Linked DNA regions of Homo sapiens: region 1 is linked to region 2. The links are contacts of gene promoters, found by promoter capture Hi-C in blood cells and fetal thymus (Javierre and others, 2016). All regions are on one chromosome and are shown on one strand. Each heading gives the region's core, a stretch centred on a gene start or on the middle of the fragment in contact. The rest is flanking DNA. Distances are from core to core; before and after follow the strand shown. Region 1 has its middle 24 kb from the start of CXCR1. Region 2 holds the start of XRCC5 (X-ray repair cross complementing 5).

Region 1 (7,508 bases), core at 511-3,010, 2.1 Mb after region 2:
ACAGTTTAACAGGAATGATTTCCTTCCCTGATAACACTCCCTTACATATTCATGAGTCAAGGCTCTAGCAAGTTCTAACAAACTTTTATCTGTCTTTGATGCAGGCTTGCTTATTTTCTCTTACACGTGGCCAGCCGTACCAAGCTCTACCCGATATGGCCCAACCTGCATAGTCAACATTCTGTCTGATGGACTTGGCTGCCAAAGCGGTATCCATGGTTGCAGTAAAAATAAACCTCACAAATGGTGACCAGGGGGCTGGAGGGTGGAGGGGTTCTAGATGGAAACTGGGCAGATGGGAGACAGGTGGGAAGAAGACTCCTTGTGAATAGCTTTTAATTTTTTTTTTTTTGAAACATGTGACATAGTTCCCATTACATATTTTCAATGTTTAAAAAATAATTTTAAAATGTTAAACAGTCATAATTCAACCATGGTGGCAGGAGGTCTGTGGTGCAGCTGAGAAACTGCTCTAAGCTCTGGCATGTGCAGTTGTATGTCTTCTGGCTGCTCTGTCTCAATTTCCACCCACAGAGCCAAGGAAGCCTCCAGCCAATTCCAGGGAGCATCTTTCTGGGCCCTGGGTTTAGAGACCTGTGATTCTCTTTATTCCCTCTGCTCCAGATTCTCCAAATCAGCTCACTTTGGGCTCTCTTGGCCCTGTGTCTTTCCTGTCACTGGTTTGTCAACTGCCTCCACTCAGTGCCTCCCCTTAGCCCTTCCTGTCCTTACGGTTTCTAAATGCAATTCTAATAGCTTCACAAATGTGCTCCTCCACTTTCCTAGGCACCAAGGAAACCTTGACCCACAGGCTTTAATTTTACCCTTGCAGTGAATTCTTATTGACTTTCACTGACCACTGGAACCCACCTACTTGCCCTGAGAACACTCCCATTATCTTTCAATTAAAATAAGACCCTTGATTTATACTTTAATATACATATATCCAGGCTGGGCACAGTGGCTCACCCCTGTAATTCCAGCACTTTAGGAGGTCGAGGCAGGAGGATCGTTTAAGCCCAGGCATTCAAGACCAGCCTGGGCAACACAGTGGAACCTCATACCTCTACAAAGCAATTTTCAAAATTAGCCAGGTGTGGTGGAACACACCTGTGGTCCCAGCTACTCAGGAGGCTGAGGTGGGAGGATTGCTCAAGCCCAGGAGGTCAAGGATGCAATGAGCCATGATCACACCACTGCACTCCAGCCTGGGCAACAGACCAAAACCTTGTCTCAAAAAATAATTTTATATACATATATATACACACATGTATCCAGACTCCTGCTGAAACTACCTCTCCCTGTTCCAATGCCACACATCTAGTTCAGCCTGCAGATGAGTTTCTTTGACTGCCTGGGATTGGTTTCCTTGTTTGTTTAAATTAGAATTGGTTTCTGACTTTTAAACCTTGAGGCTTTTTCACATTTAAAAACATCTGGATTTATACACTCTCCTTTAAAATTTTGAAGATCTGGGCTGGGCGCCATGGCTCATGCCTGTAATCCCAGCTCTTTGGGAGGCCAAGGCGGGTGGATCACCTGAGGTCAGGAGTTCAAGAAGAGCCTGGCCAACATGGTGAAACCCTGTCTCCACTAAAAATATGAAAATTTGCTGGACATGGTGGCATGCACCTGTAATCCCAGCTACTCAGGAGGCTGAGGCGGGAGAATCACTTGAACCCGGGAGGTAGAGGTTGCAGTGAGCCGAGATCATACCATTGCACTCCAGCCTGGGAGACAAAAGCAAAACTCCATCTTAAAAAAAAAAAAAAAAAAAAAAAAAATTGAAGATTTGACAACACTGAGCTCATGGCAAAACTCAGCTAAACCTAGAATGTAAAAGAAATCCTAGAAATAGAGCCACACTTACACCATCACTTGATTTTCAACAGAAGTTCCAAAGCAATCCAGTGAGGGAAAGGAAGGTTTTATCAACAATGTGGGCCAGACACAGTGGCTCACGCCTGTAATCCACGCACTTTGGGAGGCCAAGGCAGGTGGATCACTTGAGGCCAGGAGTTTGAGACCAGCCTGGGCAGCCTGGCGAAACCCCATCTCTACAAAAAATGCAAAAATTAGCCAGGCGTGCTGATATGCACCTATAGTCCCAACTACTCAAGAGGCTGAGGTGGGAGAATTGTTTGAGCCTCGTAGGCAGAGGTTGCAGTGAGCTGAGACCCAGCCTGGGTGAAAGTGAGATTCTATCTGAAAAGAAAAAAAAGAAAGAAAAAGAAAAGAAATCTCATTACACAATCAAACATCACATCACCAGAATGACTAAAAATACAAAAGCATGATAATATCGACTATTAGTGGGTTGTAGTATAGCTGGAATCCTCACATATAATTAGTGGGAATGTAAAATGGTGCAAACACTTTGGTAAAAGGTCTGGCAGTTTCTTCTACTTTCTGACCCAGCAATCCCACTCCTAGGAATATGCCCAAGAGAAATGAAAATAATATGTTCACAAAAATATCAATAGCTTTATTGATAATTGCCAAAAACTAGAAACAGTCCAGGTGTCCATCAATAGGAGAATGGCTAAACATACAGTGGAATAGTCATACAATGGAGTCATTCTCATCAATAAAAAGGACTGAATTACTGATATACTCCACAACATGATGTATCTTAAAAACATTACACTGAGTAAAAGAAGCCTTCCACTTCTATGAAGTTCTAGAACAGGTGAAACTAATCTGAAAATAATCAGAGCAGAAGTTACCTCTGGGAGGATGGAGGCAGAGACAAACCAGCCATGGGGGGACATGAGAGGATTTTTAGGAATGATGGTAATGTTTTCTATATTGATGGGCATTGGGATTACACAGGGGCACCTATTAGTTGAAACTTAGTGAATATACACTTAAGATTTGTGCACTTCATTGTCTACAAATTTTACATCAAAAGAAAACACTAAAGGCCAGGTGCAGTGGCTCACGCCTGTAATCCTAGCACTTTAGGAGGCCAAGGTAGGAGGATCACTTGAGGTCAGGAGTTTGAGACCAGCCTGGCCAACATGGTGAAGCCCCGTCTCTACTAAAAATACAAAAATTAGCAGGGCATGGTGGCGCATGCCTGTAATCCCAGCTACTTGGGAGGCTGAGGCAGGAGAATCACTTGAATTTGGGAGGCGGAGGTTGCAGTGAGCCAAGATCGCACCACTGCACTCCAGTGTGGGCAACAGAGACTCCGTCTCAAAAAAAAAAAAAAAACTATAAACAAATATTGATCTCTAATCAATGATGTACACACTGATGTATTTAGGGAGAAGTATACTGGTGTCCACAGTTACTTTGAAACACATCCAAAAGAATAGATTAATGGCTATAGGGATGGATAATGGATAAATATGAGATAAAGCAGGTAAAATGTTAATGGCAGAATCTAGGTAGTAGATGTACAAGTAGACAGTGAAATTCTGTCAACTTTTCTTTTCTCTTTTTTTTTTTTTTTTTTTTTTGAGATGGAGTTTCACTCTTGTTGCCCAGGCTGGAGTGCGATGGCGTGATCTCAGCTCGCTGCAACCTCTGCCTCCTGGGTTCAAGCAATTCTCCTGCCTCAGCCTCCCGAGTAGTTGGGATTACAGGCATGAGCCACCACACCTGGCTAATTTTTTGTATTTTTAATAGACAGCGTTTCTCCATGTTGGTCAGGCTGGTCTCAAACTCCTGACCTCGGGTGATCCACCCACCTCGGCCTCCCAAAGTATTGGGATTACAGGCGTGAGCCACTGCGCCAGGCCCAACTTTTCTTTATGTTTAAAATTGTTCACAATAACATGTTGGGGCTATCAGCTGGCATTGTCTTGGCCAACTTCTTTAACCTGTAACTGGTTGCCACACTTTCTACCCCTCCTTGCCTCATGGCCAGAGTGCTTCACTCATTTACATTACCTAGAGTGTTTCATCCTAGACACATACTGCATATCCTAATGATTGTTAACTAAATCTCTGGAAGAAGCAGAATAGCATTGTAACAATTCTACTATTTACCAGTTTTGTAATCTCGGGAATTTTTTTTTTTTTTTTTTTTTTTTTTTTTTGAGAAGGCGTCTCACTCTGTCGCCCAGGCTGGAGTGCAGTGGCCTGATCTCGGCTCACTACAAGCTCTGCCTCCTGGGTTCAAGTGATTCTTCTACCTCAGCCTCCCAAGTAGCTGGGATTACAGGTGCATACTATCACGCCTGGCTAATTTTTGTATTTTTAGTAGAGATGGGGTTTCACCATGTTGGCCAGGCTGGTCTTGAACTCCTGACCTCAGCTGATCCACCTGCCTCAGCCTCCCAAAGTTCTGGGATTATAGGCATGAGCCACCACACCTGGCCGTGACCTTGGGAAAATTAATTCTCCTCTGAGCCTCGGTTTCCTCATCTGCAGGACGAAGTGAGATGGTGAATGCAAAGTTCCTGGCACACTGGTTGGCACCAGATATATGTTAACTACTGTTAAACAGTTTAATATATTGACTTCGTAAATGCACACAGATAAAATGATGACTGATTTTCACAGTAAGAAACTCCTGAGAGTTTAGACTCACAAGCTAAAGATGGGAATACTGTTTTCCTAAAAATTGCTCTACTTGCTTTCACTACATTTCCTCTCACATAGGAGAAGCTACCTTTATTCAACCCTGTTTAACAAGCACCTACTACTACAAATACTAGGTGAACCTGTGGGCTAAGCACAGTCTCTGCTATAGCGGAGCCACAGGGGTAACTGCAATAATACATGTACGTTCAAGCTGCAGTGACAGCAAGAAAAGCTTCCAGAAAGAGGCAACACTTGAGTTGGGTCTTGCAGGATGAATAGGGATTTTCCAGATAGACCTGGGGAAGGAGGCCTGTCTAGGCACAAAGAACAGCATGTGCAAAGGCATTGAGCAATAACAGAGCAATGGAATCCTCAGAGTTAACAGGCAGTTTGTATTATGAGCAACCAGGGAAGTAGACGAGGCCAGCAAGGGAGGTAGGAACCAAATCATGCCCTGTTTGCCATGCTACAAGAGTTTGGATTTTGCGCTGCAGATAAAGAACCACCAGCATAGTTTAGGAAGATACTTCTACAGCAGAATGGGGCTACACTGACAAGAGAGAGACCTGAAGCAAGGCCAGCCAGGTACTAGTGCTACCCACTGCTCAGAAGAATTGCCTGGGGTACTTGTTAAGTATACAGATTGCAAGGCCCCCTCCAGACCTGCTGAGTCTAGGGGAAGGGCCTGGGAACCTATATGATTAACAGGCATCCCAGGTTTTCTAACAACCAAGAAAACACAGAGTGTAGGAGATTGCGGCCACCATCCTCCGTAGGAGAATAAAGGGAAAGGGGGAGGGGCATGTTACTGTGTAATTAGGGGAAGGAATCTGCATAATGTGGTCAAAGTGTTGTGTGCCAGGGTGAGGAAAGCCTGGCATGACTGCGTAGATAGTTGTACCATTTACCAAGACAGGGAATGCAAGAGAAACAGCAAGTTTAGGGAAAATAAATCATGATTTATTTTTGACAAGGAATTGATCAAAACGTTGGCTCTCAAAGTGTTGTCTTGGCAATGATAAAAACTATTGGTGGTCGCAGCTCCCAGATGCACTTATTTTCTCTTGTGCTTCTCACACAAATCTGTGACTTGAATGGCTCACATCTTCCAACCGTGTTGAGTTATAATCGGGACAATAAATTACACACATAATGTTTGGAAATAGACAAACAGAAAACTAAACATTCCCTAGGTCTCTAAAGCCCAGTGCATGACACAGCCAAGATTTTTGCCTCCTGCCTTTTGACTTAATCCAGGGACAGGGTTGATGGGTAGCATTGACAGGCCCCAGAAGAAACTCAGTCTCTCATATATTTATTCCCTTTGTCCTGTTGGTGCTATTTAGGGAACAAACACTTCCCCTTTAAAGGTGGTAATCTTAAAAATAGGAAGACAGCATGAAAAATGTGTTAGTTGTCAGAAAACCTGGGTTACAGTCACATGGAGTTTGCCAACTTAACCCAACCTCTTGGAACCTCCTTCTCCTCTTTGTAAAATAAGGATAATAATAACTACTGTAAAGAACAAATGAGAAAACAAACTTTAAAATGTGTCCAAGGGCCGGGCACAGTGGCTCACGCCTGTAACCCCAGCACTTGGAGGCCGAGGCAGGCGGATCACCTGAGGTCGGGAGTTCGAGACCAGCCTGACCAACATGGAGAAACCCTATCTCTACTAAAAATACAAAATTAGCCGGGCGTGGTGGTGCATGCCTGTAATCCCAGCTACTCCAGAGGCTGAGGCAGGAGAATTGCTTGAACCCGGGAGGCGGAGGTTGCGGTGAGCCGAAATCGTGCCACTGCACTCCAGCCTGGGCAACAAAAGGGAAACTCTGTCTCAAAATAAAATAAAATGAAATAAAATAAAAAGTGTCCAAAACTCTGCTCCAGGCTGTAAAGAACAGAAACCAACTCCCAGGAGCTCAAGTCAAAAGAGAGTTGATGGAAACATTACAACAGGCAATCTCGCCAACTTGCAAGAACAGGCAATGCAGGACAGCTTGTCACTCAGGAACTGGAGCTGGAAGCCTGACGCTGCTCCCACTGCAGCACTCTCTCTGGGGCCATATGGTCTGCATCTCTGCTTCCCTCTATGGGTCCACGCACTCCCACATGGCAGACGTGGCAGTTGTCTATCCACCATCCATTCCCCTTCCTCCCTCACTAACAGAACCTCCATTGGATGAGGATGGTCTAAGCCAGTTATGCAACCTATTGCCCACTCTCCCAGCCTTCTTTACACCTAACGGTGGCCATGGATATGATTCTGGTCAATGAGGCTCAAGGAGAAGACTGCTGGGAACTCTGAAAAACCTCACTTTTCCTACCAAAGAGAAAGAAAGACACTGCTTGGCACCCTCTCTCCCTTTTCCTTCCTTTTGCTTGTGACTGCTAGAGCAGCAGCAACCATCATGGAACCATCGGGAGAAGGACAAAAGAACTGGGAAGACAGAAGTCAGCCCTGGACATTGCTGAGCATCCAACCAATATTAGCAAATTTTATGTGTAAAATTACAACACCAAAAAAAAAACCTCACTCCTATGTTTTTAAGCCACTGGGAGTTAGATTTTTGTTACTAGCAGCTGAAGGCACTCTTGATTAATAATACGATCATCTAATTTGGGGTCTTCCAAACTTCCATCATCCTCAAACCACCTTCAGCATTTTTGCCATGCCTGCTCAAATACCATGTTCTTCTTTAAATTGAGTCACTTTTATTAACGTGACTTAAAATAAATATGTAATGATTTAAATTAAAATAGATTCACCATGAATCACCCAAAACCATCCCATTTTTACCAATGGAACACTTTGCAAAAGCAAACCCAGCTCCAGCTATGTCCCTGATGCCCCCACCCTCAATTCCCAGGAGGGAAGGCTCTGGAGCAGGGTCTTCCCCGACTCACATGGCACCTAGGCCCACACACACCTCAGGAACTCTACAGAGATGGAGATGATCAGCAGGTCTGCTGAA
Region 2 (6,634 bases), core at 2,806-5,305:
TTACTGGTTATAGCAGGTCATGAGGCCTGTCCAGATTCACGGGGAAGGAACTACATAAGGGTGTGAATGCTGAGAGGCATGGCTCACACGCATCACCAAAATGACATTTTGCCATTCCCCCTTTCCTATCCCATTTATTTCCCTCATATGCCACAGTGGCTTTTACACATTTCTCTCTAACTCCCCCTTCTGTCCCCCAACACACATACCATCACCACCACTAGTCATAGCCCATCAACCTCCTGTCCCCCTTTATTCCCAATTCTGTATCATTTAAATCCAAAAGGACCTTGCACTGACAGAAACAGAACGAACAAAGCCAGAATCCTTTTGTTGTGGAGGAGGAAGGGAGTAGCCATATATGCTGTCACATCATTAATAATGTTTATCCCTTGACCCTTGATTAATGAAGGCCCTTTGCCAGGGGAAGCAATGCTTAAAGTCCATATCCCTTTTCAGCGTCACAGATGCCTAGCTGCACAGAGGTGGCTGGTTCTAAAGACTTCTATAAAAACAGCTGAGATGCAAACAAGCACAGCTACTAGAACCTCTTTTATTTCTTCCAAGAAACAGACCTGTACTGAAGGGTGTATGGAAGACAGAGAGTGGGGACAGGGAGAAGGAGAAGAAGGGGGAGGAGGAGGAGCAGGAGGAAGAGGAAGGGGAAAAGCAAGAGGGAGGGAGGGAAGGAGGAAGGGAGAGAGAGAGAGAAAGGAAGAGGAAAAATAGAGACCATATACAAGATAAAAACATGGACATAAAGCATGCAAATTTCCTTCACTGTACTGAGTCTCCAGTAATTCTCTTTACCAGTCTTATTAAAAATATTTTTTAGGCTGAGCGCGGTGGATCACATCTGTAATCCCAGCACTTTGGGAGGCTGAGGTGGGCGGATCACCTGAGGTCAGGAGTTCGAGACCAGCCTGGCCAACATGGCAAAATCCCGTCTCTACTAAAAATACAAAAATTAGCCGGCACAGTGGTGGGTGCCTATAATCCCAGCTACTTGGTAGGCTGACGCAGGAAAATCGCTTGAGCCTGGTGGCGGGTGGGAGCGGCGGAGGTTTGTAGTGAGCCGAGATCGTGCCACTGCACTCCAGCCTGGGCGCAGAGTGAGACTGTTCTCAAAAAAAAAGAGGGTATCAGGGTACATTATCTCCACATGCTGATAAGTTGTTACATAAGTCCCACCAATTCACAATTTAATATCATATACTCTACCCACTCAAATTTTCAGTCTTTCAAAGCACATTAACAAAGTTATCAGGAAAATGGGACTAGCACAACCAAAGATGTTACAGACTGCACACAATTTTGACACGGATAGCAACGTGACCAAGGAGTGGTTTTCTTCAGGAAACAATTCTACTAAAAAAACCCATGAAAATAAAAGTAATTTAAAATTTTCAAGACACATTAAATGCATGACTGTGGCTCTATATTGCCATTTAGTATGCGCTGTACTGTAGGAAATAAAATACCCTCTCCCTAGGGAATGTTAAACTGACTTCGAAGACAGTGAAAGCCTCCCATTATTCACTATTTCAGTGTTTCCTGGTTGTACCAAACAACAAACAAGTGAATTATTTCACCTTTTAAAAGCTACACTTTAAAAATGGGATAAAGTGGGATTCCCTCCTTCCTAAAAATGTTTCAGCCAGGCACAGGCTCACGCCTGTAATCCCAGTACTTTGGGAGGTCAAGGTGGGCGGATTACCTGAGGTCGGGAGTTCGAGACCAGCCTGACCAAGATGGAGAAACCCCATCTCTACTAAAAATACAAAATTAGCTGGGTGTGGTGGCACATGCCTGTAATCCCAGCTACTTGGGAGGCTGAAGCAGGAGAATCGCTTGAACCCGGCAGGCGGAGGTTGCCGTAAGCAGAATTCGCGCCACTACACTCCAGCCTGGGCAACAAGAGGGAAACTCTGTCTCAAAAAAAAAAAAAAAAAAAAAAGTTTCTACAGCTACTAAAAAACTTGCATTTAAAAATAGTTGATAAAAATATTCCTTATCAAAATAGTTGATAAAAATATTCCTCTGAGGCCAAGTGCAGTTGCTCACACCTGTCATCCCAGCACTTTGGGAGGCTGAAGCGGGAGGATCGCTTGATCCCAGGAGTTCAAGACCAGGCTGGGCAACATAGGAAGACCCCGCCTCCACACACACACAGAAACCCCACAAAAATTAGCTGGGCTTGGTGGCACACACCTGTGGTCCCAGCTACCTGGGAGGCTGAGGTAAGTGAATCGCTTGAGCCCAGGGGTTCCAGGGTGCAGAGAGCTATGATTGTGCTACTGGACTCCAGCCTCGGCCGAGCGACACCCTGTCTGTTTCTTTCCTTTTCTCTCTCTCTCTAGCTCTGGATCGTACAAGAAGGGAGACAAGGACCACTGACAAGATATGGTATGTGATACTAATCAGATTTGGCTTCTTTCTGTCCTGCTTCACCAGAGGCTGGACTCTCCTTGTTTCAGTTTCTCCGCTTTCCACAGATAAATCTTTTGTTTCCCGGATAGCCACTTGGCCTGTTTGCCCTTTGCTCCCATTTTTCCTTGTTTGCTTCTTTGTCTGAAAATTTATGCTGTCCTGCTGCCTCCGCTGGGCTTCGTTTCCACCTTTGCTGGAGGAGATTTAGCTGACAACCTCACAGATCTTCCCCGCCCCTTCTGCCGAGCTGATCTTTCTCTTGGAAATCTTACCCGCAGGGAAGGGCGAGTGTCCGTGCCTGCCTGCCTGCCTGCTGCAGCCCGCGCAAAGCTGAGCGGCCAGGGCGCTGCTGTTCCTTTAAAGTATTATTAAAAATAATATTTCAGCTTTTAAGTAACTCCTTGAGTTTGAATCAAAAGCTGGAAGAACCTCCTGGGCTCTATGAGCACCTCTGAATATGTCTGACTCTACATTCTAGAGGCTTCAATGTATTTATAATTTTGGCTCATAGATTCTCCACATCTTTTCAGCTTCAATTCTTGCTTTTCCCAGAAACAATTTTCAAGCAGGAGAGAATATTGATTGGACTTGATTTTCTCAGTTTGGGCAGAGGTTTGCAGACACTTTGCAGGTTGCCAGACCCTTCGTCCAGCCACCTGTCAGCTGGGGGTCATATGGTATAGAAAGCAGTCATTTCTATGCAAGGTACTGCTTGGGCCTGCCTCCCTCAAAGGGGTAGGGGATGCGGGCTGGACAAAGGGCTCGTGATCAAGTAAAGCACTGTGATGACAGCTGCTATTTCTATATCTCCCTAGACTTGTCTTCTAAATTAAACCTTGACTCCTCCCTTCCAAGCTGGAGCCACTGCTAACTACTGGGAGAGCCTTAGCAGATAAAGTCTCATGCCTCCAGGCGTTTGTGCATCCCATTTTCTCTGCAGAGTAGAATCTCCCTTCTACTTTTGTGCTCCTGGGGACGTCCTACTCTTCTTCCCCAGTTGGCTCTAAGGTTATCACATCGGTGAAGTGTTTCATTATCACTTTTTAGAAGAAACTGAGTCTTTTAGAGAAGTTAAGTGACTTTCTGCATTCATACTCATACTCAAGAAAATCTAACTCCACAATAACCAAAAATAAAAAGTAGAAAAAAACCCACAAGTGATGAGAAAAAAAAAAATCAAAAGTTATAAAAAATAAATGAAAAAATGAAATTAAAGGAAAAAAGATTTTTTAAAAAAGTAAAAAAAAGAAAAGAAATCTAACTCCAGAGCTCTGACACAAAATGCCTTAGGTGTTATTCTCAATGAGAGAAAAGGGACGTGAATCTTTAAGTGATTAAGTGAATCTTTAAGTAAATCTGTCGTACTAGCGTTTCAGGCGGCTCAAACACCACACGCTCCCGACTACGGCGGAATGGAGAGAATGTGCGCATGCTCGGCGGGAATCTGCGCATGCTCGGCGGGAATCTGCGCATGCTCGGAGAGAATCTGCGCATGCTCGGCCGGAATCTGCGCGAGCTCGGCGGGAATCTGCGCAAGCTCGGCGGGAATCTGCGCATGCTCAGAGTTCCGGGGCACGGTTTCCCCGCCCCTTTCAGGCCTAGCAGGAAACGAAGCGGCTCTTTCCGCTATCTGCCGCTTGTCCACCGGAAGCGAGTTGCGACACGGCAGGTTCCCGCCCGGAAGAAGCGACCAAAGCGCCTGAGGACCGGCAACATGGTGCGGTCGGGGAATAAGGTATAAAGAAAGCCATGGACTTGGGCTTTACCCGGACTGGGGATCCGGAGAGGGTGGTTCGGAAGCAGGAATCGTGGGATCGCGGTCAAGACAAAGAATGGGGCAAGAGAAGATCATGGTGGTGGGCTCAGTCAGGAGGGCCGGGACCGAGGGATGCGCTATGAGAAAAGCTGGAGATTTGGGGCTCCAAGACCTGAATTTGAGCCTCGCTGACTCCACCTCTTCCATTACCCACCCATCCCATCCCTCTTCTCCCTCTCTACCTGCTCTTTGTCTCACCTGCCTCCCCACCCGCCTCCCCTCTCTCTCTCTTTATCCCATTCCACTCCCTAGCCCCACTTCCTCTATTACTTCCGAGCCTGGGTTCTTAAGATCTCTATGAGAATGAAAATTAGCTGTGATAAAGCAACTATCCCACAGGGCTTGTTGTAAAACTTAAGAGAGGGACTATCTGTGACTAAAATAACTTAAACTGTAAAGCGTCGTATTATTAGCTTTATAATAACGTAGTATCCCGCATTTATTGAAAGCCCACTCTGTGAGGGACGGATCTAAACCTTTTATTCTTATCTCATTTAATCTTCACAACCCCTTGAAGTGAAAACTATTTATCCCCATTTTGCAAGTGGGAAAACCGAGGAATAAAGAACTGTGGGCTTTTCCTGGTGAAATCCGGATTTGAATCCAAGCTGTCTGGTTTCAGGGCCCTGGAGAACCCCTGTGTTGCTAGAAATCTATGACCATTGGTGTCCCAGATCAGTAACAGAAATTACAATGAATTTTAAAGTGATTTTTTTTTTTCAACATAAAAGAGTGGTAGTTGTCTCTGAAGGGTCACTAGAGGGAGATGTGGTTCCAGGGATTAATGAATTTATTCAATACAGATAAACAAGATACGAGTTTGAGCAACTGATCCCTAGTTCCCTCAACTCCTCATTGAGAAATGTTGATTAAAACGATCATGAACTTTTAATAATGCCACTCACCTCCTTTTTTCGTCCTCTTTCAGCTGCTGAAAACTTTGTAGCTCTAGTGGAGGAGCTGTTTGTTGCAGATGAACTGGAAGTAAAATTCTAACAGCCTGTATTGCTTCGGTATAGAAATGAAGAGTTGCTATGCTACCCGGTTTCTCTTTCTCAGTTTTCTTACTGCTGCCAGATAGGAACTCAGAAATATAGACCATTCTGCTTCCAGACAATAAGTTCCATATTTGAAACCCTTTGATGGCACTTACTGGATACCTAATTCATGACAAAAGTGCTTTAGTCCTCTAGAGTTTTCTGGTTTAAAAGTAGCTTTTGTGGGTGTGTATCAAATAAGTGCAGCAGCATATTTTGTGACTCTTAAGTTTTTTTAGGTTATCATGCCCCAGGCATTGAAACTGGGATGTGCATTTTACTGTTCTCAAAGGAATTTTGTGGTTTATTAGCACGTTTTTTTTTTCAAATAATCTAATTTTACTTCAGAAATCTCTTAGTGCATTGTGTTGTTTGTAAACTAGTGAAAAATAATCTTTTCTTTTCATGTGTTGCCTGAGATATAACCACATTTAGAAATCATCTATAACTTCCCTGATAGGAATTCATTCAGGTTTTTAAAACATTTCTAGGGTCAAGAGATCACTTAAAAAAGAGTAGTTTCTTTATTGATCACTTCTAAATGTTATTTTTTATCCCTCGTATGGAGTCGCATCAGTCTCCCTGTAACTTCCATCTGTTGATCCCGTTGTCTTTCTTGGCAGACCAATCCTTTTATACAACAGTTGTCAAATATCTGGGGGGAGGCCAGACACGGTGGCCTATACCTGTAATCCTAGCACTTTGGGAGGCGGAGGTGGGAGGATTGCTTAAGCCAAGGAGTTTGAGACCAGCCTGGGCAACACAGTGAGACCCCAACTCTACAAAAAAAATTTAAGAATTAGCTGGGCATGGTGGGGTGCAACTGTGGTCCCAGCTATTTGGAAGGCTGAGGTAGCGGGATCACTTGAGCCCGGGAGATGGAGGCAGTAGTGAGCCATGATCATGCCACTGTACTCCAGCCTGGGTGACAGTGAGACCATGTCTCAAAAAAAAGGAAAAAAAAATGGTGGGGAGGAAAACTGTTATGTTCCCTTTAATCTTCTCATCTGACTTAAATATCTAGTTATTTCCAACTGTTCTTTACATCATGTATTCTTCAGATTCTTCCCTAAGCTGCTCATTTCATGTTCATTTGTAATTAATTTTCCTGGTAAGATGTTAGCCCAGAACTGCTCACAGTTTGTTTGATCGGTACAAAGCACTGCGAGACTATCAGTCAGAGTCAAGGAATGTGAACTCCAGAAAGGACCTTAAACCTCATCTAGTCCAACAGTTTCCTACCTTTTAGTATTATTAACAGTGAGATTAAGTGACATTCCCAAGGACTCAGAACTAATGGGTAGGAGAGATGGGACTAGATCCCAGGTCTCCCGATTGCTATTATCTTTTT

The links. The method cuts DNA at HindIII sites, captures the fragments that hold promoters and counts their contacts. A CHiCAGO score of 5 or more calls a contact.
Region 1: a contact is called between a fragment that was not itself captured here and the fragment with the promoter of XRCC5 in region 2, in 1 of 17 cell types (neutrophils). The highest score is 5.0, in neutrophils.

The regions. Positions count from the first base shown.
Region 1 is chr2:218,187,329-218,194,836 of GRCh38, forward strand. No RefSeq gene overlaps it. Among named protein-coding and RNA genes, the nearest start is that of CXCR1, 24 kb to the left of the region's middle. The HindIII fragment of the contact is 6,006 bases long and covers 1-4,763 here.
Region 2 is chr2:216,105,293-216,111,926 of GRCh38, forward strand. XRCC5 (X-ray repair cross complementing 5) reads left to right here and starts at 4,056. Exons shown (of 21, transcript NM_021141.4): 1 at 4,056-4,165. The coding sequence starts at 4,145. RefSeq lists an enhancer at 3,780-4,401. The HindIII fragment of the contact is 16,954 bases long and covers 1-6,634 here.